7 separate regions of the Homo sapiens genome follow, and regions 1, 2, 3, 4, 6 and 7 are each linked to region 5. The links are contacts of gene promoters, found by promoter capture Hi-C in blood cells and fetal thymus (Javierre and others, 2016). All regions are on one chromosome and are shown on one strand. Each heading gives the region's core, a stretch centred on a gene start or on the middle of the fragment in contact. The rest is flanking DNA. Distances are from core to core; before and after follow the strand shown. Region 1 has its middle 7.7 kb from the start of PLK4. Region 2 has its middle 10 kb from the start of LARP1B. Region 3 holds the start of MFSD8 (major facilitator superfamily domain containing 8). Region 4 overlaps LARP1B (La ribonucleoprotein 1B). Region 5 holds the start of JADE1 (jade family PHD finger 1). Region 6 overlaps MFSD8 (major facilitator superfamily domain containing 8). Region 7 overlaps LARP1B (La ribonucleoprotein 1B).

What was found. The method cuts DNA at HindIII sites, captures the fragments that hold promoters and counts their contacts. A CHiCAGO score of 5 or more calls a contact.
Region 1: a contact is called between a fragment that was not itself captured here and the fragment with the promoter of JADE1 in region 5, in 1 of 17 cell types (non-activated CD4 T cells). The highest score is 7.0, in non-activated CD4 T cells.
Region 2: a contact is called between a fragment that was not itself captured here and the fragment with the promoter of JADE1 in region 5, in 1 of 17 cell types (activated CD4 T cells). The highest score is 5.8, in activated CD4 T cells.
Region 3: a contact is called between a fragment that was not itself captured here and the fragment with the promoter of JADE1 in region 5, in 9 of 17 cell types (activated CD4 T cells, total CD8 T cells, non-activated CD4 T cells and 6 more). The highest score is 13.2, in activated CD4 T cells.
Region 4: a fragment that was not itself captured here is called in contact with the fragment with the promoter of JADE1 in region 5 in 2 of 17 cell types (total CD4 T cells and activated CD4 T cells); the score reaches 5.5 in total CD4 T cells.
Region 6: a contact is called between a fragment that was not itself captured here and the fragment with the promoter of JADE1 in region 5, in 1 of 17 cell types (activated CD4 T cells). The highest score is 6.3, in activated CD4 T cells.
Region 7: a contact is called between a fragment that was not itself captured here and the fragment with the promoter of JADE1 in region 5, in 1 of 17 cell types (activated CD4 T cells). The highest score is 7.0, in activated CD4 T cells.

The regions. Positions count from the first base shown.
Region 1 is chr4:127,871,601-127,874,790 of GRCh38, forward strand. No RefSeq gene overlaps it. Among named protein-coding and RNA genes, the nearest start is that of PLK4, 7.7 kb to the right of the region's middle. The HindIII fragment of the contact is 9,011 bases long and covers 1-3,190 here.
Region 2 is chr4:128,049,592-128,052,816 of GRCh38, forward strand. No RefSeq gene overlaps it. Among named protein-coding and RNA genes, the nearest start is that of LARP1B, 10 kb to the right of the region's middle. RefSeq lists an enhancer at 3,100-3,225. The HindIII fragment of the contact is 4,093 bases long and covers 1-3,225 here.
Region 3 is chr4:127,964,406-127,967,517 of GRCh38, forward strand. It overlaps MFSD8 (major facilitator superfamily domain containing 8), which reads right to left and starts at 768. Exons shown (of 12, transcript NM_001371596.2): 1 at 667-768. The coding sequence starts at 728. It overlaps ABHD18 (abhydrolase domain containing 18), which reads left to right and starts at 1,001. Exons shown (of 13, transcript NM_001358451.3): 1 at 1,001-1,201. RefSeq lists silencers at 1-74, 85-134, 1,255-1,484 and enhancers at 575-994, 585-1,200, 1,879-2,380, 2,381-2,880. The HindIII fragment of the contact is 3,933 bases long and covers 1-3,112 here.
Region 4 is chr4:128,071,443-128,074,674 of GRCh38, forward strand. LARP1B (La ribonucleoprotein 1B) reads left to right here. Exons shown (of 20, transcript NM_018078.4): 2 at 3,018-3,076. Among named protein-coding and RNA genes, the nearest start is that of LARP1B, 12 kb to the left of the region's middle. The HindIII fragment of the contact is 5,579 bases long and covers 1-3,232 here.
Region 5 is chr4:128,808,206-128,811,077 of GRCh38, forward strand. JADE1 (jade family PHD finger 1) reads left to right here and starts at 1,495. Exons shown (of 11, transcript NM_199320.4): 1 at 1,495-1,672. RefSeq lists silencers at 1,318-1,797, 2,308-2,427 and an enhancer at 1,898-2,007. The HindIII fragment of the contact is 6,052 bases long and covers 711-2,872 here.
Region 6 is chr4:127,947,643-127,950,618 of GRCh38, forward strand. MFSD8 (major facilitator superfamily domain containing 8) reads right to left here. Exons shown (of 12, transcript NM_001371596.2): 3 at 2,162-2,205. Among named protein-coding and RNA genes, the nearest start is that of MFSD8, 16 kb to the right of the region's middle. The HindIII fragment of the contact is 1,619 bases long and covers 867-2,485 here.
Region 7 is chr4:128,095,605-128,098,822 of GRCh38, forward strand. It overlaps LARP1B (La ribonucleoprotein 1B), which reads left to right. Exons shown (of 20, transcript NM_018078.4): 8 at 2,582-2,726. Among named protein-coding and RNA genes, the nearest start is that of LARP1B, 36 kb to the left of the region's middle. The HindIII fragment of the contact is 9,900 bases long and covers 1-3,218 here.

The sequences.
Region 1 (3,190 bases), core at 606-3,105, 940 kb before region 5:
GTAGTTAAGCAAAGCAAGTATCAGATGCTGCCTTGAAATCTAGAACCTTATTCTTTTCATGTGATGATAGTGACAAAGCAACTGACACCAACTCTGATTACAGAAAGTAGGGAATTGGTGAATTGAATGTGTACTGCTACTTAAAAAAATAGAGACATGGCTGGGCGTGGTGGCTCACACCTGTAATCCCAGCACTTTGGGAGGCTGAGGCGGGCAGATCATGAGGTCAGGAGATCAAACCATCCTGGTGAACATGGTGAAACCCCGTCTCTACTAAAAATACAAAAATGAGCTGAGTGTGGTGGTGCACGCCTGTAATCCCAGCTACTCCGGAGGCTGAGGCAGGAGAATCGCTTGAACCCGGGAGGTGGGGGTTGCAGTGAGATTGCACCACTGCACTCCAACCTGGGTGACAGAGCGAGACTCCATCTCAAAAAAAAAAAAAGAAAGAAAAGAAGAAAAAGAAATAGAGATGTAGCTATGATTATGATTAAATAGATGAAGAACCAAAGCATCCTATAAGGAAGTATCTTTAAAATTGCACAGATGTCAGCCGGGTGCAGTGGCTCACGCCTGTAATCCCAGCACTCTGGGAGGCCAAGGTGGGTGGATCACCTGAGATAAGGAGTTCAAGACCGCCTGGCCAACATGGTGAAACCCTGTCTCTACTAAAAAAACAAAAATTAGCCGGGCATGGTGGTTGGCACCTGTAATCCCAGCTACTCAGGAGGCTGAGGCAGGAGAATCACTTGAATGTGGGAGGCAGAGGTTGCGGTGAGCTCAGATCGTGCCACTGCACTCCAGCCTGGGCAACAGACAAGACTTTTTCTAAATAATAATAATAATAATAAATAAAATTGTATAGATGTCAGCTGGTGCAGCGGCTCACGCCTGTAATCCCAGCACTTTGGGAGGATGAGATAGGCAGGTCACCTGAGGTCAGGAGTTCGAGACCAGCCTGGCCAACATGGCAAAACCCCGTCTCTACTAAAAACACAAAAATTGGCCAGTGGTGGTGGTATGCGCCTGTAATCCCAACTGCTTGGGAGGCTGAGGCAGGAGAAGCCCTTGAACCCAGGAGGCAGAGGTGGCAGTGAGCCGTGATCAGGCCATTGCACTCCAGCCTGGGCGACAGAGCGAGACTCTGTCTCAAAATAAATAAACAAATAAATAATCTTATAATTATTAAATGAATTGGAGAGGACAGTGATGTTAGCAAGATGGCAGAGTATTGTTATGGATAATAATAGTTATCCATAAATGATAATAACTTTGGGAGGGATCAAGGGCCCATTTAAGAACTTGTGGTAACACAGTGGAGGAGAAAAATGGAGAATAACCAATGTGGAACAGTCAAAGGACAGCAGTATACCTGAGACATCTAGAGACAGGAACAAAAGACAAGGGTAGGAGCTATTAGTATCAGCCGCACAGCATGGGCTACTGTGGTCCCCACTCACCTGCTCTATAGAGGACACCAGCAACTGAGGTAACCAACAGCCATCCCCACTGCAGACCCCTCCACTACCACCAGAGAGGGAAACATGGCTATGCCCCCTCCAAAGGCGCCACTGTTGGGCTTTTCAGGACTGGAGCCATCATCCCTCACAATCCCGTGCTAATCCCTGACATCTGAACTATGGTCATTTCTCTGTCATGCTTCCTGTTACGCCTGAAGAACTGTGGGTCAATTAAACTTCTTTTCTGCATAAATTACCCAGTCTCAGGTAGTTCTTTATAGCAGTGTGAAAACAGACTAATACACCATACTACACAAAGCAATCCACAGATTCAGGGAAGTCCCTATCAAAATTGTAATGGCATTTTTCACAGAAATAGAAAAAGCAATCCTAAAATTTACCTGGAATTACAAAAGACCTTGAGTAGCCAAAGCAATCTTGAGCAAAAAGAAGAAAGCTGGAGGCATTATACTACCTGATTTCAAAATAATTTATAAAGCTATAGTAATTAAAACAACATGGTACTGACATAAAAACAGACATATAGACAAATGGAACAGAATAGAGAGCCCCAAAATAAATCCATACATTTAGGCAATTGATCTTCAACAAAAGTGCCAAGAACACACAATATGGAAAGGACAGCCTCTTCAATAAAGGGTGTTGTCAAAACTAGACCTCCACATGCAGCAGAATGAGAGTGAACCCTTATGTCAGCTGATATACAAAAATCAACACAGAATGGATCAAAGATTTAAACACAAGACCTGAAACTGTAAGACTATTAGAAGAAAATATAAAGGATAAGCTCCATGATATTTGTCTAGGCGATGATTTTTTTAAAATATGACCCCAAAAGCACAGGCAACAAAAGCAAAAATTGGCAACTGAGATTGTGTCAAACCAAAATGCTTCTGCACAGGCAAGGAAACAATCAACTGAGTGAAGAGACTACCCATGACTTGGGAGAAAATATTTGCAAACCATACATCTGATAAAGGGTTAATATCAAAATAAAGAACTCAACTTGATAGCAAGAAAGAAGTAATTTTATTAAAAAATGGGCCAATGACCTGAAAAATCACTTCTCAAAATAAGATACACAGCCAAGCGCACCTCTAGTCCCAGCTACTTCGGAGGCTGAGGCAGGAGGTTCACTTGAGCCTAGGAGTTTGAAATGAAACTGGGCAACATAGTAAGACCCTGTCTCATATTTTTTTAAAAGGGAAGAAGATATACAACTGGCCAAATAAAATATTTTAATTTTCACATTATTTACTGATGTGTATTTTAAAGAAATAAAGAAACAAAATAATAGTTCTTTATATTTATCTACATAGTTCCCATTTCTTTCTTTCTTTTTTTTTCTTTTTTGAGACAGGGTTTCACTCTGTCACCCAGGCTGGAGTGTGGTGGTGCGATCTCAGCTCACTGCAACCTCCACCTCCTGGGTTCAAGCGATTCTCGTGTCTCAGCCTCCCAAGTAACTGGGATTACAGGCACACTCCACCACACCCAGCTAATTTTTTATTTCTGGTAGAGACAGGATTTCACCATGGTGGCCAGGCTGGTCTCGAACTCCTGGCCCAAGTGATCCGCCTGCCTCGGCCTCCCAAAGTGATTGGATTACAGACATGAGCCACCATGCCCAGCCCATAATTCCCATTTCTGATGTTCTTGATTACTTTCTGACAATATGAGTTTCTATTTCTTATCAAATCCACACAGTG
Region 2 (3,225 bases), core at 433-2,932, 760 kb before region 5:
GTTGGTCTCGAACTCCTGACCTCAGGTGATCCGCCCGCCTCGGCCTCCCAAAGTGCTAGGATTACAGGTGTGAGCCACCGTGCTCAGCCCCATTTGATCTTATTTCTAGGGGATCATGACACTGAAACCACAGAGAAGGGAATGCAGTCCTCTCATACTACATTGTTCTGCAGTAAGAGATAGCTATAAACTCAAAATAACATAAAGCTGTTTGTGGATTCTTAAATTTTCAGACCAATCTATGAACAAAGCACAAAGGTATATTATGGTTACTCAATAGAGTATAAGTGATTACTCCTGACAATGTAAGGAAAAGGAAGAAATGTCCAGGATGTGGAGACCTCTCATACGCTGCCAGTGGGTGTGTGAATTGGTACAAGAGTTTGGAAAATGACTTGGCAATATTTGGAACAAATGAAGATATGCAGATCCTATGACTCAGAAATTCTATTCCTAAAATGATACCCTCAATAAATTGGCACATGCACACCAGAAAAAAAAATGTTCATAAAAGCCATGTTTACAGTAGTCCCAAATTGGAAGCCGAAAAATTCATCAACAATAGCATAAAAAATTGTGATATAGTCATTCAATGAAATACACATACTATAACAGAATAAATGACCTACAGCTACTCTCAACTTGTATGAATCTTAAAAACATAATATTGAATGAAAGAAGCAAGACGGAAAGTAGCATATGATTCCATCTACATATAGTTTTAAAAATAGGCAAAACTATGGGATGCATGTTTAGTGACAAACCATAAAGAAAAGCAAGAAATTTGAGGAGGCCAAGGCAGGAGTATAGCTTGAGCCCAGGAGTCCAAGACAAGCCTGGGCAACGGACACCTCATCGCTACAAAAATTGAAACAAATAAAAAATTTGCCACGGCCGGGCACAGTGGCTCACGCCTGTAATCCCAGCACTTTGGGAGGCTGAGGCAGGTGGATCACGAGGTCAAGAGATCGAGACCACGCTGGCCAACATGGTGAAACCCCGTCTCTACTAAAAAAAAAATACAAAAATTAGCTGGGCATGGTGGCATGTGCCTGTAATCCCAGCTACTTAGGAGGCTGAGGCAGGAGAATTGCTTGAACCTGGGAGGTGGAGGTTGCAGTGAGCCGAGATTGCATCATTGCATTCCAGCCTGGTAACAAAGTGAGATTTCGTCTCAAAAAAAAAAAATTTGCCAGGCTTGGCAGCTCATGCCTCTGGTCCCAGCTACTTGAGTGGCTGAGGTGGGAGGATCTCTTGAACCTGGGAGGTCAAGGCTGCAGTGAGCCGTGATCGCAGCACTACACTATAGCCTGAACAAAAGAGTGAGATCTTGTCTCGAAAAAAAAAAAAAAAATGGTGTGTGTTGGTGGGGGACACATGGGAGTTCTAATAAGAGGGTTGAATGTAAAAATAAAGAAAAGCAGACAACCGTTGGAAGGTAGAACAAAGGGTAGGATGATATATTCTCATTTTATAGAGTGGCAATATAAGAAGCTCTTTCTAAAATTGGTGAAATACTAAGTAAATGTTCAAATTACTTAAATTATTTAAAATTTCCAAGTAAACAACAAAAATATCAGAAATTGGGAGGAGAATCGAGCAGGGGCTTATGTAAGTGTGTTAAATCCTCATGTTTTATAGTGGCAAGGCAAAAGTTGAAAGATGGTAACTTTGGGGATTAGTACCTTTGTGAAGTAGAACTGTTTTTTTATTTTCATTATAAACAATATTGTACCATTTGGTGTTACCATATGCATAAGCTAATTGCATTTTTTTTTTTTTGAGACGGAGTTTCGCTCTTGTTGCCCAGGTTGGAGTGCAATGGCGCCATCTGCGGCTCACTGCAACCTCTGCCTCCTGGGTTCAAGCGATTCTTCTGCCTCAGCCTCCTGAGCAGCTGGGATTACAGGCCACCACACCCAGCTAATTTTGTATTTTTAGTAGAGACGGGGTTTCTCCACGTTGGTCAGGGTGGTCTCGAACTCCCAACCTCAGGTGATCCGCCCACCTCGGCCTCCCAAAGTGCTGGGATTACAGGTGTGAGCCACCACGCCTGGCGGCTGATTGCATTTTAAAAACCACAAGCTATTTTGTAGTATTGTTGAACAACTTTAAGGGGAAAAAAAGGCAATATAGTGTATTGTTATGGTTAAGAGTATGAACTATGGAGAACTATGAAGCCAGATTGCTTGGGCTCAAATCCTTGCTCTGGCACTTTCTTTTTTTTTTTTTTTTTGAGATGGGAGTCTTTTTTTTTTTTTTTGAGATGGGAGTCTAGTTAGCTCTGTCGCCCAGGCTGGAGTGCAGTGGCATGATCTTGGCTCACTGCAGCCTCCACCTCCCAGGTTCAAGCAATTCTCCCGCCTCAGCCTCCCAAGTAGCTGTGACTACAGGCATGTACCACCACACCCGGCTAATTTTTGTATTTTTAGCAAAGATGGGGTTTCACCATGTTGGCCAGGCTGCTCTTGAACTCCTGGCCTCAGGTGATCCACTGGCCTTGGCCTCCCAAAGTGCTGGGATTACAGGCGTGAGCCACCACGCCCGGCCCTGGCACTTTCTAATTGTATGATTCTAGGCAAGCCATTTATCCATTTTGCCTCAGTTTCCTCATTTAAAAATGGGGGCAATAATAATCTGTATTTTATATAGTTGTTCTTAGGATTAAATGAATTAACACATGTAAAACACTTAGTGTCTAGCATATGTGTGTTAACTATTACCTACCACTAGGTAGTTAATTGTGAAAAATAAAGCTGAAAGGAAAAGATGAAGACTGAAAATTACCCAGTAGACTTATTAACATGTAAGTCATTTGATATTTTAGTGACACGGTTGAGTGATAGAGCCAGAAACTGGACTGAAGAGGGAGAAGTGAAGAAACAGATGCATACTCAATTTTCCATGAATCATTGATCATACTCCTTACATTTTTTTCTTAACTCCTTTGACTTTCCCAAAGATAACTACTATCTTTTTTTTTTTTTTTTTGAGATGGAGTCTCGTTCTGTCACCCAGGCTGGAGTGCAGTGGCACAATCTCGGCTCACTGCCACCCCGCCTCCCCGGTTCAAGCAATTATCTGCCTCAGCCTCCCGAGTAGCTGGGATTATAGGAACATGCCACCACGCCTGGCTAATTTTTGTATTTTTAGTAGAGACAGGGTTTCACCATCTTGGCCAGCCTGGTCTTGAACTCCTGACCTCGTGATCCACCCGCCTCGCCC
Region 3 (3,112 bases), core at 63-2,562, 840 kb before region 5:
GAGAAATCGAGCGCAGCGCCAGTGGGCTGGCACTGCTGGGGGACCCAGCACACCCTCCGCAGCCGCTGGCCCGGGTGCTAAGCCCCTCATTGCCCGGGGCCGGCAGGGCCGGCCTGCTGCTCCCAGTGCGGGGCCCGCCAAGCCCACGCCCACTCGGAACTCCAGCTGGCCCGCAAGCGCGGCGCGCAGCCCCGGTTCCCGCTCACGCCTCTCCCACCACACCTCCCTGCAAGCTGAGGGAGCCGGCTCCCACCTTGGCCAGCCCAGAAAGGGGCTCCCACAGTGCAGCGGTGGGCTGAAGGGCTCCTCAAGTGCCGCCAAAGTGGGAGCCCAGGCAGAGGAGGCCTGGAGAGCGAGCAAGGGCTGTGAGGACTGCCAGCACGCTGTCACCTCTCAGCTTGGGTGCTGCAACAGGCAAAGCAGCAGCCTGGGTTTCTCCAGCCCCGTCACTCGAACCCACGGGCTCATCACCGCACGGTGCGGCCAGACGCCCTTTCTCCTACGTTGGGAGCGAATCTCCTCGGCTCACACAACCCAGCCACCGGCTCCCACCGCGCTGGAACCCCTCTGGCAGCGAGGGTTTGTCCCAGTGCGGGTGACGCCCGGAAAGGAACCAGTCCCAACAGCGCAGGAGACTGAGGGGTCCCTCCACCAGGATCCGCTCACCTGCTTCCAGGTGTGTCGCCTAAGAGCGGCTCCTGTTCACTTTCGTTCCGCAGGCCGGCCATAGTTACACTCCCTACAAGGCGTCTTGCGCCCAACTCTCGCGACACCTGCTTTCTCCCATCCCGGGTGGCGTGAAGCTGGCAAAACAAGCCTGTAAGTGCGCGTGCGCACCTGACGGTCAGACGTAGGCGGAACGCCCCGAGGTCATAGGCGGGGTCACGCGGAAGGCCGGGCAGCGCAGGGCGAAAGGAGGCTGTGTCCTCAGCCTCCTCCCTCGGCACGCGCCTCCCATCCTGACGGGGACTGAGAGCCCAGGAGAGCTCGGGGCGTGTCCAAACTGCCGCGCCGCCCTGCTCCGGGTTTGTCTTCCTCCCTCCGTTTCTCCTTCCGCTGTATCTAGCATTTCGGTTCCTGGAAAGGTTACCGGAGCTGCGATTGGGGCTGGGACCAAAGTTGAGTCCTGGAAAGGGAGCCTGGAGAGCGGCGGTGCTGGGAGGCCCGGCCAGCTCGATCGCAGGCTTCCACCTGGCGGCCAGTAAGTAGCCGGTCCGGTTAAGTAGTAGGTGCGCTAAGAGCTCCCCGCGCCTCTTAGCGCGCCGTGTACGCGCCTGGAGGCAGGGACCGGGGACGCGGAGCTGGGCGGGAGACTCGCGGGTCAGGGACGCGGGGTGAGGCTGGGGGTGAGAGACAAGGCTGGAGTCCGTGGCGCGCTTCGGAGGGCTGAGATAATGGGGGCGAGCGCGCGGGCAGTCCCTTCCCCCCGTGAAAGGTAGAGGTGGCTTCCAGCTCTCTTCTCTAGCTCGGCTAAATGCAAAGGCGCCTTACCTGGAGGGCTTGTCAGAGCCAGGACTGAAGGTGGGATCTGCTGCTTGTAACCTGCAGGTCCCCGGATGCGCACCCCAACGGCGCCTGCGCCTACGGGGGCCTCAGCCTTGCAAAATGTCACTCAGCAGAGCCTGCTGCTGAAACGTGGGAGTTGAAAAAGGTACAGCACCTGCCTAGCAATGACCAGCTCCTTTCGTCACAAGGAAGATGACATTTTTAGAAAACATGTCATGGGTTTTCACTAGATCTCCATGTTTATTTCTTGGTGGTTATGTATTAACATCTTATCTCTACTATTAGGCTTGTAGGCTAGCTGGCGTCAGTAGTCATTCTGTGTCTCATAAATTACCGTTTTATTAGCGCCAGATACATTGTCATGTAATTTCATTTGATCACAAGTATCCTATGAGATAGGCGAAGCAGACACATTGCTAGTTTACTGAAAATTAAGATCCAGACAAGTTAACCCAGAGTCACTCTGTGTGGAAGTGGCAAAGTTGGAAACCAAACTTAATTTTTTTAAATTAATATTTATGAGCATTTACCCTATGCTAGGTCCTATACTAGTTACACAGTCATGTATGGTATATGCCATCACTTCTGATCTTTGTGTCATTTGTGACCTTGTGTGTATCAGCCAGGCGCAGTTCACTGGTGAACACCTAAACTTGAAACGTGCGGTCTGGGTGCGATGGTTCATGCCTGTAATCCCAGCACCTTGGGAGGCCAAGGCGGGCGGATCACGAGGTCAGGAGATCGAGACCATCCTGGCTAACACGGTGAAACCCCGTCTCTACTAAAAATACAAAAAAAAAAAAAAAAAAAAAAAAAAAAAAAAAAAAGCCGGGCGTGGTGGCGGGCGCCTATAGTCCCAGCTACTCGGGAGGCTGAGGCAGGAGAATCCCTTGAACCCGGGAGGCGGAGGCTGCAGTGAGCCGAGATCACGCCACTGCACTCCAGCCTGGGCAACAGAGTGAGATTCTGTCTCAAAAAAAAAAAAAAAACCAAAAACCTTGAAACGTGCTATTCAGAAATATCTTCTAAATCAAGACCTGATATTTTGTACTTGGATTCAGTCTTGCAGATTCATTTGTAACAGCTCACAAAAACAAGTCAGATTTGTATTATTGGTTCCAAAAAGACACATAGGTAGAAAAGTTAGTATTTTCTTGCCATAATGTCGCTTTATTATATTGTCTTTTTTAATTCCTGGGGGCTAGCAATGTATGGCACATATATAGTGGACAAGGGGATTTTTAACCAGTATAGCAGTAAGCAGAATGGCTCCTAGATAAATATATGTTGGATGAATGCTCATTGAATTACTTCATCTCATCCTTACAACAATCCTCTGAGGGGGGAATTGTCTCATGTGTACAAGGAAATGGAAGGCAGGGAGATTAAGTAACTTGCCTAGGATCATACTACTAACAAGCAACAGAGCTAGAATTCAAGAAATGCAGGACTCCTGATCCTAAGCCTGTGCTCTTTACCACCAGGCTTCTTATGGGAAAAAATGGCAAAGCGGCAAGAAGAATCTTTCCTTATATCTCATAAAAATATATAGTAGATATTCAGTTTTTATCTAAGTGAAATAATTGGCTATCATGTATCAGGGCAG
Region 4 (3,232 bases), core at 14-2,513, 740 kb before region 5:
AGACAGTCTCACTCTGTCGCCAAGGCTGGAGGGCAGTGGCACTGTGTCGGCTCACTGCAACCTCCGTCTCCTGGGTTCAAGCAATTCTTCTGCCTCAGCCTCCCGAGTAGCTGGGATTACAGGCGTCTACCACCACGCCCAGTTAGTTTTTATATTTTTAGTAGAGATGGGGTTTCACCATGTTGGCCAGGCTGGTCTTGAACTCCTGACCTCAGGTGATCCACCTGCCTCAGCCTCCCAAAGTGCTGGGATTACAGGCATGAGCCACCGCGCCTGGCCATTCTTTCACATTTTAAAAAGCACTAATTTTTACCACATTTTCCCTTAAATATGATAAGATGTGAAATATTGATATCATCAGTGCATTTTCTTAATTAAAATTTTGCCAAAAGATTATGGTCATAAGAATTAAGCTGAGTGAAATAGGCTCTGCTGTGTTGTAGCTTTTGTTTAAAGTATCCTAGCCCTTAAAAATATATTATTTTCTTTAACTATTTACAGTTATTTCCTTGTAGGTCCCAGGGTTTAAGGATAACGTTTTATTATTTATTTATTTTTACTTTATTTATTTATTTGAGATGGAGTCTCGCTCTGTTCCTCAGGCTGGAGTGTGGTGGTGCGATCTCGGCTCACTGCAACCTCTACCTCCTGGGTTCAAGCGATTCTCGTGCCTCAGCCTCCAGAGTAGCTAGGATAACAGGCACCCGCTGCTATGCCTGGCTAATTTTTGTGTTTTTTAGTAGAGACGGGGTTTTGCCATGTTGGCCAGGCTGCTCTCAAACTCCTGACCTCAGGTAATCTGCCTGCGTTGGCCTCCCAAAGTGGTGGGATTATAGGCGTGAGCCACTGTGCCCGGCCTAAGAGTAACATTTTAAAGATAGTGAAATAATGCTCAAAAAAGATGTACTGGTATATAGTGTCTGTCTTACTAATGATGTTTGAAAAATGGAGATATGTTTTAAATTTTTAAATTTAAAACAATTTCCTCAACTGGCTTGCTATTTCAGTCTTAGGTGTTCTCTAATGACATGCAGCATGATTTCCTCCATGTTAAAACATGAGAAAATGAAAAATTTCCTTTCTTAGGCTTCTTTTACTTGTAATCTGTACGTATATATAATTTTTTTTTTTTTAATCAGAGTCTCACTCTGTTGCCCAGGCTGGAGTGCAGTGGTGCAGTCTCGGCTCACTGCAACTTTCACCTCCTGGATTCAAGTGATTCTCCTGCCTCAGCCTCCTAAGTAGCTGGGATTACAGGCATGCGCCACCACACCTGGTTAATTTTTGTTTTTTTAGTAGAGATGGGGTTTCGTCATTTTGGCCAGGCTGGTCTTGAACTCCTGGCCTCAAGAGATCTGCCTGCCTTGGCCTCCCAAAGCTGTTTGGATTACAGGTGTGAGCCACTGAGCCTGGCCTGTATATATAAAATTATATTTAAAACCTGGTGGACTTCTTTCCATGTCAATACATATACAGCTTTGTCTGATTTCTAAAAGTTATATAGTATTCTGTGTATTATTACGTAGAGACTGTTTAAATAGGATTATCAACAAAGTTGCACTGAACATCCTATATGGACATCTTTGTACCTTTTCTTGATTCCTAGATAATTTCCTGAAAATGGAATTCTTTTATTAAAAGTTATATACATTTTAGATGACAGATTACCCTTGAAAGATATACTACCTTGGCTGGGCGCCGTGGCTCATGCCTGTAATCCTGGCACTTTGGGAGGCCGAGGTGGGCGGATTACTTGAGGTCAGGAGTTTGAGACCAGCCTGGCTAAAATGGTGAAACCCTGTCTCTCCTAAAAATACAAAAAAATTAGCCAGGCATGGTGGCAGGCGCCTGTAATCCCAGCTGCTTGGGAGGCTGAGGCAGGAGAATGGCTTGAACCCCGGAGGGGGAGGTTGCAGTGAGCCAAGATTGCGCCACTGCACTCCAGCCTGGGCGACAGAGTGAGAAGATTCCGTCTCAAAAAAAAAAAAAAAAAAAAAAAAAAAAAGAAAGAAAGAAAGAAATACTACCTCATACTCTTACCAACAGCAAACAGCATGAGAGAAATAAAGAGACTCTGTCTCAAAAAAAAAAAAGTTGTATTTGTAATTTTCTCCTGTTATATTGTTGTCGTTTTTTTTTTTTTTTTTTTTTTTTTTTTTTTTTTTTTGGACAGAGTCTAGCTCTGTCGCCCCAGCTGGAGTGCAGTGGTGCAATCTAGGCTCACTGCAACCTCCACCTCCCAGGTTCAAGCGATTCTCCTGCCTCAGCCTTCTGAGTAGCTGGGACTATGGGCATGTGCTACCACACTGGGCTAATTTTTCTATTTTTAGTAGAGATGGGGTTTCACCATGTTGGCCAGGCTGGTCTCAAACTCCTGACTCCAGTGATCCGCCCATCTTGGCCTCCCGAAGTGCTGGGATTACAGGTGTGAGCCACCAGGCCCAGCCTATATTCTGTTAATGAGAGGATTGTTCTGTCAGTTCAGTGTAATACGCTGTGTTTTTTTTTGTTTTTTGTGGTGGAGTTTTGCTCTTGTTGCCCAGGCTGGAGTGGAATGGCAAGATCTCAGCTTACCGCATCCTCTGCCTCCCAGGTTCAAGCGATTCTCCTGCCTCAGCCTCCTGAGTATCTGGGATTACAGGCATGTGCCACTGTGCCCGGCTGATTTTGTATTTTTAGTAGAGACGGGGTTTCTCCATGTTGGTCAGGCCGGTCTCGAACTCCTGACCTCAGGTGATCCACCCACCTCGGCCTCCCAAAGTGCTGGGATTACAGGCGTGAGCCACCCCGCCCGGCAACACTGTTAATATTTCTTACTTCTTGATTTGGAGACTGAAGATCACCTTGAATCTATGTGTCAAATGGGGTTGATTTTTTGCTAGGAATTTAAGTCTCAGAACCTTGGATTTTGGTTGGAAATGATGATTATACTGATTTACTGAAATTGACATAATAGTTATTTTGTTGAATTTATTGAATGAAGTAGTTGTAAAAACAATTCTATATATTTTCTTTAGAATTCGGTTCCCTCAAAATTATAAAGGCAGGAAAGCTCAAGACAAAGAAATCCAACAAGGTATGTCTTCATAGGAAATAGTTCTTAACTGTATTGATTTTTGAAAATTGAGGCTAAGAACTCTTAGGTTATTATAAGTGTATTTTTCTTCTAATTGTATTATTGGTATTAGATTAAAGTTAATATTATGGAAAATCATAACCTTTATCCAAATCT
Region 5 (2,872 bases), core at 245-2,744:
CTGGCAGGGAGTCTTTCTACTCTTCATTAGCGAAACAGGAGAGGACATATACAGTACTTAGGATTTCCACTGGCTTACTTTGTTTTCTGAAAAATAACTGAAAGGCTCAATTAGTTTTGTTTTGTCGCATTTATCAGATTATAACGTTCTGGATGTGGGTCTGGATGTGGGTAGTTGGGCTGGTGTGGGATTACATGAAATCAAACCTGATATATTCAGAAAGATTCTTCCGGTGGACACATATGCCTTTTGGGTTCGATATTCAATTTTGTAATTAGTGATCACTGTTCCTATTTATTTATTTATTTATTTGAGACGGAGTTTCGCTCTTATTGCCCAGGCTGGACCACAATGGCGCATTATCGGCTCATCACAACCTCCACCTCCCGGGTTCAAGCGATTCTCCTGCCTCAGCCTCCCCAGTAGCTGGGGTTACAGGCATGTACCACCATGCCCGGCTAATTTTGTATTTTTTAGTAGAGACAGGGTTTATCCATGTTGGTCAGGCTGGTCTTGAACTCCCGACCTCAGGTGATCCGCCCACCTAGGCCTCCCAAAGTGCTGGGATTACAGGCGTGAGCCACCGCGCCCGGCCTGAATGGGAGTTTTTAATCCGTACTTTTTTCTTATTGAAGTTGAATGTCATATACCCCTCTATTTCCCTAGATGAATCCATGAAAGAAGTATGTTGCCCTCTATATGAAAAAGCAAGCTTGTCTTCTGCAGAAAATCAGTAACCACTCCTTTTTACACATAAATACCCCCAAATGAATCTCCGATGACTGATCTGATACTAGTCTGCAATTCTAGTTTTAGCATTAGGCTCACTCCTCATATTTGGGAGAAGATGTCCAATTCTGTAGTAATGTGTAACATAAAGTGGTGTCAATTTATAAATAATATCTTCTAATGAATTAATGCTCATTTGCAATGATCACTTCCATACAAATTTAGGTAAAGATGTTATTCAGAATTGGATTCTCTCTATTTAAAAATGTCATCCTAATGTGCAACTCCCTAAAACTGTTACTACAAACAACTATTTTGCCACTCAGCCTAAAAATAAAACCTTTCACCCAAATGACACATCTTAATAGCCATATTTTAATCTACGTAATTTTAAACTATTCTGAAAGAATCCATTTCTAGATGTCAGACAAGAGTTGAAACTGGGACAGCAGTTTGAAGGGGCTAATTTAAAAACCCACTTGCTTGGAGACACCTCAAGAATTTCTAGGCTCACAAGGTGGGTGAAGTAAGGAAAGAGACTAAGAGCTGAACAGTGCCGTTCTTTGCGAGCCCCCACTGGCGCAGGCTGAGCCGGCTGCGGCTAGGGCTGCGAAGAGTTAACGAGGGACCGAGCCCCAGCGCCGCGGGCTCCCCGCATGCTCCCTCCGCCCTCCCGTCCCCACCCTCTCGTTTTGGCAAGGGATTAAAGTGCTCCCCCCTGTGGCAGCAGTGACCCAGAAATGAGTTTGATTCACATAGTCCTTCCTCCATAACAAGCCAAACGCCAGACCGAGAGTGCCTCCGTGCGCGAGTGCCCGGTGTGTGCGCGCCGGCGAGAGCAGGGGCCCGCCCGGCTCCCCGCCCGCCGCGGCCCGAACTCATGCAGCTCCGAGCGAGCGAGCGGCGCCCAGCCCAGCGCCTCGGCCGAACCCCTCCGCAGCAGGTACGCGCGCGGGCCGCGGGGGGCGCGCGGGGTGGGCGCGCCGCGCGTGTGTCCGCGCGTGTCCGCGTGTGGGTCCGTGTGCGCGTCCCGGTCCCGCGGCGGCGACGGCGGCGGCGGCGGCGGCGGCTGCAGGACGAGCCGAGAGGCTCAGCCATATTTGATGGTTTTGTTGCTTTGCTCGGGAGTTCTCGGGAGTAATTTAATGCCGAAGGTCGCTGCCTAGTGGAAATAATATAATACGTCATTAATATGGCGCCAAAAGATTGGGTTCTCGATCTGTAGCGAGGAGGGAGGGAGGCAGCCGCTGAGCGCAGCGTTACTATCCCACCAGTAACTTGGGCATTGCCGGGGCGGGGGCCGGAGGAGGAGGAGAGGATGATTTTTGGATCCTGAGAATTGATCTATGTTGGATCAGTAAGTTTTATTATGATTTTTTTTTTCAAATTTGGGGGGCTGAAGACTTAGAGCTATTTCTTCTTTTGGATTTGCGAAGAACATGCGGTTTTCAGGTGAATCATCAATTAAACGCGTTTAGGAGCAGAAGCCCAGTTTAAGTTGGCTTTAGTTTATAGGTTTTTTTTTTTTTTTTTTTTTTTTAGAAAGCCAAAGTGCATTAGGCTGCATGAAAGTGGAAAGCATAGTAGCAACTTGGTAGACAGATGGCAATGGCAGAACGCAGGTTCGCGTACATATATGAATCCAGAGTGTGTGAGACCGTGTGTGTGGTGGGACTGTATTTGTCCAAACATAGGTGTGCGTAGGTACATCTGTGTGTGGTGGCCGCAGCCCTGGCTCTTGTCACCGCGTCACCACATGTCCAAAATATTCATTGCATCAATTCAAGGGCAGTGAGAGGGGGGTGGGGGTGGGGGTGGAGGGACAGTTTGGCAATTAGATTCTTCCGAACTGGGCTTCCAGTGATCAGATCTTTTACTTACAGCGCGACTGCTTGTAAAGTGTAAAACCCCTTAATCGATGAAATGGGGTAGGAGTTGGCGTTGGTAGAGCAAAGTACCGATTAATCGTGAACTTAAAGGGGATTGCAAATTGCAACCTTTGGCACCATCTGCAAATTGTGGGGGTGGGGTCTCTTGGTCTCCTTGCTTCCTTAAATGAACGTGTAGTGTGTACCCCGGGACTGCAAGTTGCAGAGCCCTTCAGTGCACGTGTCTTGTGCCTGTGAGTCTGTGTTTGCGAGTT
Region 6 (2,976 bases), core at 426-2,925, 860 kb before region 5:
CTTGAAGAGTGAATAAAAGACAGTGAGGAAGGAGAAAGGGGAGAGCAAAAGAAAGATGGAGAGAGGAAAAGCATTCCAGTAAAAAGGGAGACAAATGTGTAAAGACCTGAGGAGCCTGGGTTCATCCAAGTACCATGGATTTATCTAATAAATTGTTGGCTATACATCTAATATGGGACAAAGTTCAGAATCTAGGATAAAACACACATATGCACGTGTGAACACACACACACACACACACACACACACACACACACTCTCTCTCCAACCTCATAGAAAAACCAACAAGGGATAAACTGATAAGGAAGAATACACAAAAGAATTTAAGAATAAGTCATTAGAGTTAAGAGGAAAGCCAGGATAGAGAAATGTCACAGAAGCTAAGAGGTGGTGCCATGGTTTGAATGTGTCCCCCAAATTTCATTTTTTGGAAATTAATATTTAAATTAATATTATTAAAATATTGAAAGGTAGGACCTTTAAGAAGTGACTGTGTTACATTAGGTAGCTAGTTGGGTATGAACAGGGCAGGAGAGGTCTCCCCTGCCCCTCACATGGGGAGTGTGGAGAGACTGTTAGGTGATGGTCAGGCGGTTGTTAACGCTCTCTAAAGTAATTATTGGTCACAGCTAGTGCTAGGAAAAGGCAGCCTCCTAATAAATAGAAAACACCTGGTAATTAGCAGCTTCCTGATACGATCTCAGGGGTGGGGTGAGTGGGGAGAAGTAATGCAAGACCCCAAAATTATGCCAGTGTATGAAATCCCAAGTCAAAAGGTCAAACCGCAGGCTTGTCTTTCAAGTTGCCCACTTGGCCCTCTTCCAAGTGTACTTTCCTTCTTTTCCTTCCTTTCATTCTTGCTCTAAAGCTTTTTAATAAATTTTAACTCCTGCTCTACAACTTGCCTCAGTTTCTCCTTCTGCATTATGTCCTTTACTTGAATTATTTCTTTCAGGAGGCAAGAATTGAGGTTGCTGCAGACCTGTACAGACACAGATCTGCCAACTAACAATTGGATCATGAAGGCTGTGCCCTCATGAATGAATCCATTTATGTATTAATGGGTTATCATGGAGTGGAACTGGTGGCTTTATAAGAGAAGGAAGAGAGACCTGAGCTAGCATGCTCAGCCCCTTCATCATGTGATGCCCTACACTGTCTTGGGACTCTTCGGAGAGTCCCCACCAGCAAGAAGGCCCTCACCAGATGTGGTCTCTCAAACTAGGACTTCTCAGCCTCTGTAACGGTAAGAAATAAATTCCTTTTTTAAAATAAATTATCTGGTTTAGGGTATTCTGTTATAAGCAACAGAAAACAGACTAATACAGGTGGTTTCAGGAAGTAAGGAGAGGACAACAATGTCAAATCCTATCCAGGTGTCACCTAAAATAAGGACTGAAAAGTATTTCGTGATCAACAATTAAGTAATTGGAAACCTTACAAGAGCAGTTTCAGGACAGCAGAAAAGTTAATCAGATAGCAGTAGGTTAAGGAGTAGGTTAGGAAATACAGAGGAACTCTTTAAGAACCTTTACTAAAACATTGTTATAGATGAATTATGTAACCAACTTATATACTGATTTTTAGTTAAGTTTCTTCCTGGAGATTTAAGATAGAACTGACAGGACCTGATGATCAACTGATGTTAAGCTACCTAACAAACTTACATATTCATGTCACCCCCTCTTCCCCTTCTAGTAATAACAGCATCAAAAAATACATATGTTCTAGTCTTTACAATGTTACCTGATAGCCCAAATTAATTTTATGGGAAAAGCGTTAAATTATTCCACAAAAATATCATTTACACACTTTAGGAATTCAGACTATTACTAGTTTCCTTTTTATTAGGGAAGAGGTAATGATGGAATATGAATGTGGCTTCTGAGTAGGTGACCATACATCTACCTTTGCCTGGGACTATCTGGGTATGATCCTATTTTTCCTTACGTAGCAGTCTCTTCACTACAAAAGTGTTCTGGCTTGCACAATAAAGCATATGGTCACATTACTTATAAGCCTCTTTTAAGGAACTATTATCTCATTATTCTTGTAAAGATTAAACCATAGAATACCAAAGAGACTCTTTAGAAAATGCTTAACTACGTAAGAGTTACTACTACTGTAGCTATAAGGGAAAAATAGATTGAAATGTACAAACCTTTTGGAGATATGGCCATATGGACATCATCACTACAGAAAACCCTGTGAAGAAGCAAACTAGGTTATTTATACTTATAATAATTTAATCATTATTACAGATACAATTTTCTGAACCGTGGCATGGATTTTAAAATATTCTGAACCTAAAATCTATGCATACAAATGCCTAATTTATGAGGCAATGAGATTTTAATTATCAGAAGAAAAATAAAGACTAAAAGAACATACAATTACAGTCCCTCATCATAATAACAAATACAAAAAAGCAGAGGATCTACTTCTCCATACTCATGTGCTTTTACTGTAAATGGAAATAACCAAAAGCTTTGTTAAGTTTTTATAGCAGAAATGAATGGAGGAAAGGCTATTTTGTTAGACAGGAAGTGCTAGGCTTCTATCCTGTGTTGTTTGGAGGAGATAATTGACTGAAGGGAAGAGCAGGAATAAGGAAAATGATCATCTACAGGGGGGCTATAGAAAACCAGAATACTTCAAGATGGCCATACCTTAAAAGAAAATTCACTATTTCTGCTAGCCTTTACTACATGAAAACTATAATGATTAACTCCAACACTATCTGTCAATTTTAAATGTTAGGCAAATGCAGCCAGCAGTGACTTATGCCTGTAATCCCAGCACTTTGGGAGGCTGAGGCAGGCAGATTACCTAAGGTCAGGAGTTTGAGACCGGCCTGGCCAACATGGTGAAACCCTGTCTCTACTAAAAATATAAAAATTAGCCGGGCATGGTGGCACATGCCTGTAATCCCAGCTACTTAGGAAGCTGAGGTAGAAGAATTGCTTGAACCCAGGA
Region 7 (3,218 bases), core at 222-2,721, 710 kb before region 5:
AACTATTAAAGGAAAATTTGGATATTTACATTCTTAAAATAAGTTGATTTATTTTCTTCCCCTTCAGTAAAAGGTAGCTGAAAACAAGTTTCCAGTTATAGATGCCTTTTTTTCAAAGATAGAATTTGGCCCATATACTTCAAGGGCATCTTTAGTCACTGAGTTTTATACCCCAAAATGTGAGCTGGTTTGTTTTCTCATAACTTGTATTCCATGTTTGAAAACTTTCTCTGTGATTTGGAAATAGTGTGGGATTATTAAACTGTAGGCCCCATCATCATTGATGTTATGTATTTCTTTTGTATCATTCTTCTCTATATTTTCCCGTTTGTCTTCTTCTCTGTCTTTAAAATCCTCATACTCTCATTTACATATATGGAGGCTATAATTTTTTTTTTTTTTTTTTTGAGACGGAGTCTCGCTCTGTTGCCCAGGCTGGAGTGCAGTGGCACGATCTCAGCTCACTGCAAGCTCCGCCTCCCGGGTTCACACCATTCTCCTGCCTCAGCCTCCCACGTAGCTGGCACTACAGGCGCCCGCCACCTTGCCCGGCTAATTTTTTGTATTTTTAGTAGAGACAGGGTTTCACCGTGTTAGCCAGGATGGTCTCGATCTTCTGACCTCGTGATCCGCCCGCCTCGGCCTCCCAAAGTGCTGGGATTACAGGCGTGAGCCACCGCGCCCGGCCTATGGAGGCTATAATTTAAACATGTATTTCTCTCTCTTTAACCTTTCCTATGGTGTGGATAAACATGTATTTCTCAAAGGCTATTATTAAATGTATTGTGAATATTATCTTTATATCTTGGGATTTGTAGTTACTGATCATACTGACAGTTCATCCATTTACATTTCTCTCGGAAAGGTTAAGTGGGTTTGTGTTTTTCAAGAGAAGATAAAACATCTAATCATCTTCTATATTTTTGCTTCCATGTGCCTCATGGTGTCAAGGATATTCCTTCTTTAGCTATATTCTGTTCACCCTTAATGTCTTTCTTTTTTTTTTTTCTGTTTGAGATGGAGTCTCGCTCTGTCGCCCAGGCTGGAGTGCAGTGGTGTAATCTTGGCTCACTGAAAGCTCCGCCTCCCAGGTTCACGCCATTCTCCTGCCTCAACCTCCCGAGTAGCTGGGACTACAGGCGCCTGCCACCACACCCGGCTAATTTTTTGTATTTTTAGTAGAGACGGAGTTTCACCATGTTAGCCAGGATGGTCTCGATCTCCTGACCTTGTGATCTGCCCGCCTCAGCCTCCCAAAGTGCTGGGATTACAGGCGTGAGCCACCATGCCTGGCTAACGTCTTTTATTATTGTTTTTAGACAGTCTTGCTCTCGCCCAGGCTGGAGTATAGTGGCACCATCCCTGTTCACTGCAACCTCTGCCTCCTGGGTGCAATTGATTCTCCTGCCTCAGCTTCCCGAGTAGCTGGGATTACAGGCACCCGCCACCATGCCCAGCTAGTTTTTGTATTTTAGTAGAGATGGGGTTTCCCCATATTGGTTACGCTGGTCTTAAACTCCTGACCTCAAGCGATCCACCCACCTCAGCCTCCGAAGGTGCTGGGGTTACAGGCGTGAGCCACCTCACCGGGCCACCCTTAATGTCTTATGGTCTGTCTATCAAAGAAAGAAGCATGGAGAACTTGAATCGTTCAAAATATATATGTGCACATATGCCTGTGTGTTCACTAAGTTTTTTTTGTTTTGTTTTGTTTTTTTTTGAGATGGAGTTTTGCTCTTGTTGCCCAGGCTGGAGTGCAATGACGCGATCTTGGCTCACTGCAATGTTTGCTGCCCGGGTTCAAGGGATTCTCCTGCCTCAGCCTCCTGAGTAGCTGGGATTACAGGCATGCGCTACCACACCCGGATAATTTTGTGTTTTTAGTAGAGACAGGTTTTCTGCATGTTGGTCAGGCTGATCTTGAACTGCCGACCTCAGGGGATCCACCCATCTCAGCCTCCCCAAGTGCTGGGATTACAGGCATCAGCCACCGCGCCTGGCCATGTTCACTGAGTTTTTAACTAAGAATTGTGCTGGTTACTAGGCTTCAGAAGTATTAAACATGGCAGTACTTTGTCAACTTAGAAAACAAAATGAACTACTTTTCTGTATGTGAATTTGACAAAGGATATTTCCAGTATACCACTCTTCTCAGCGACTGGGAAAAAGGTGGAAGGCATTATGCTAACATGGGATTAGCTTTGTTATCTAATGCTTAAATGAAACAAGTAGAAGTGGCTTTGTAAAGATTTTCATCTAATTAACTCATTAAAAAAAATTATTGAACTATTTTAAGGTAAAATGAGCAGCTTAATTCTTTATATTTAGTGAAACTGATCTAAATAGAAGTTATTAATTTTTTGGAAAATAATATTTTAAGTTTAAGAGAAATTATTAATTCAGTAGAGTTTTTTGCTATCTTATATGTTTACCCTATCTGTGTTGTATTAGAGCTATACATATTGTTAACCAAATTACAATATTTTCATGTTAATGATTGGTTTTCACAGTTAATGTGGGAGCAATAGAAATATTTATTTCCTACTAAATAAATGGATGAAATTCTGATTTCTCTTTTCAGTGAATATTACTTCAGTGTAGAAAATTTGGAACGAGACTTCTTTCTTCGGGGAAAGATGGATGAACAAGGTTTCTTGCCTATTTCCCTGATTGCTGGTTTTCAGCGTGTTCAGGCTCTCACTACAAACCTTAATCTCATCTTAGAGGTAATTGCTCATTTGATGAACAATTTGTACTTTCTGCTCAAATTTCCTTTGTACCTAAAACTTCTCTGAAAAACAGAGTACTAAAAACAGACAATCTGTAGTTGCTTGAGGCTCAGACAGCATTCCATGATGTTTTTCTATTTTGTAAAACCTTCATAAATGTCTAACCTTGGAAACCCCTGAAAGTATTGCTAACGATGTTACTGTGTATTTTCTCCTTCCCCTCCCCCTCAATTAGTCAACCTATTTTAAACCTGATCCTTCAAACTTTAACCCTTTTGAACACCCTTGGTCCTTAAAACTTCTTCAGGGCTGGGCGTGGCGGCTCGCACCTGGGTGATAGAGTACAACGGCGCAATCAAACACAAATTTCTTCAGGTTACTGTAAAAAAGCATGTGTTCCTGTATATGTATGTGTATATATATATATATATATATTTTTTTTTTTTTTTTTTTTTTTTTTTTAAGACAGTGTCTCACTCTGTTGCCCAG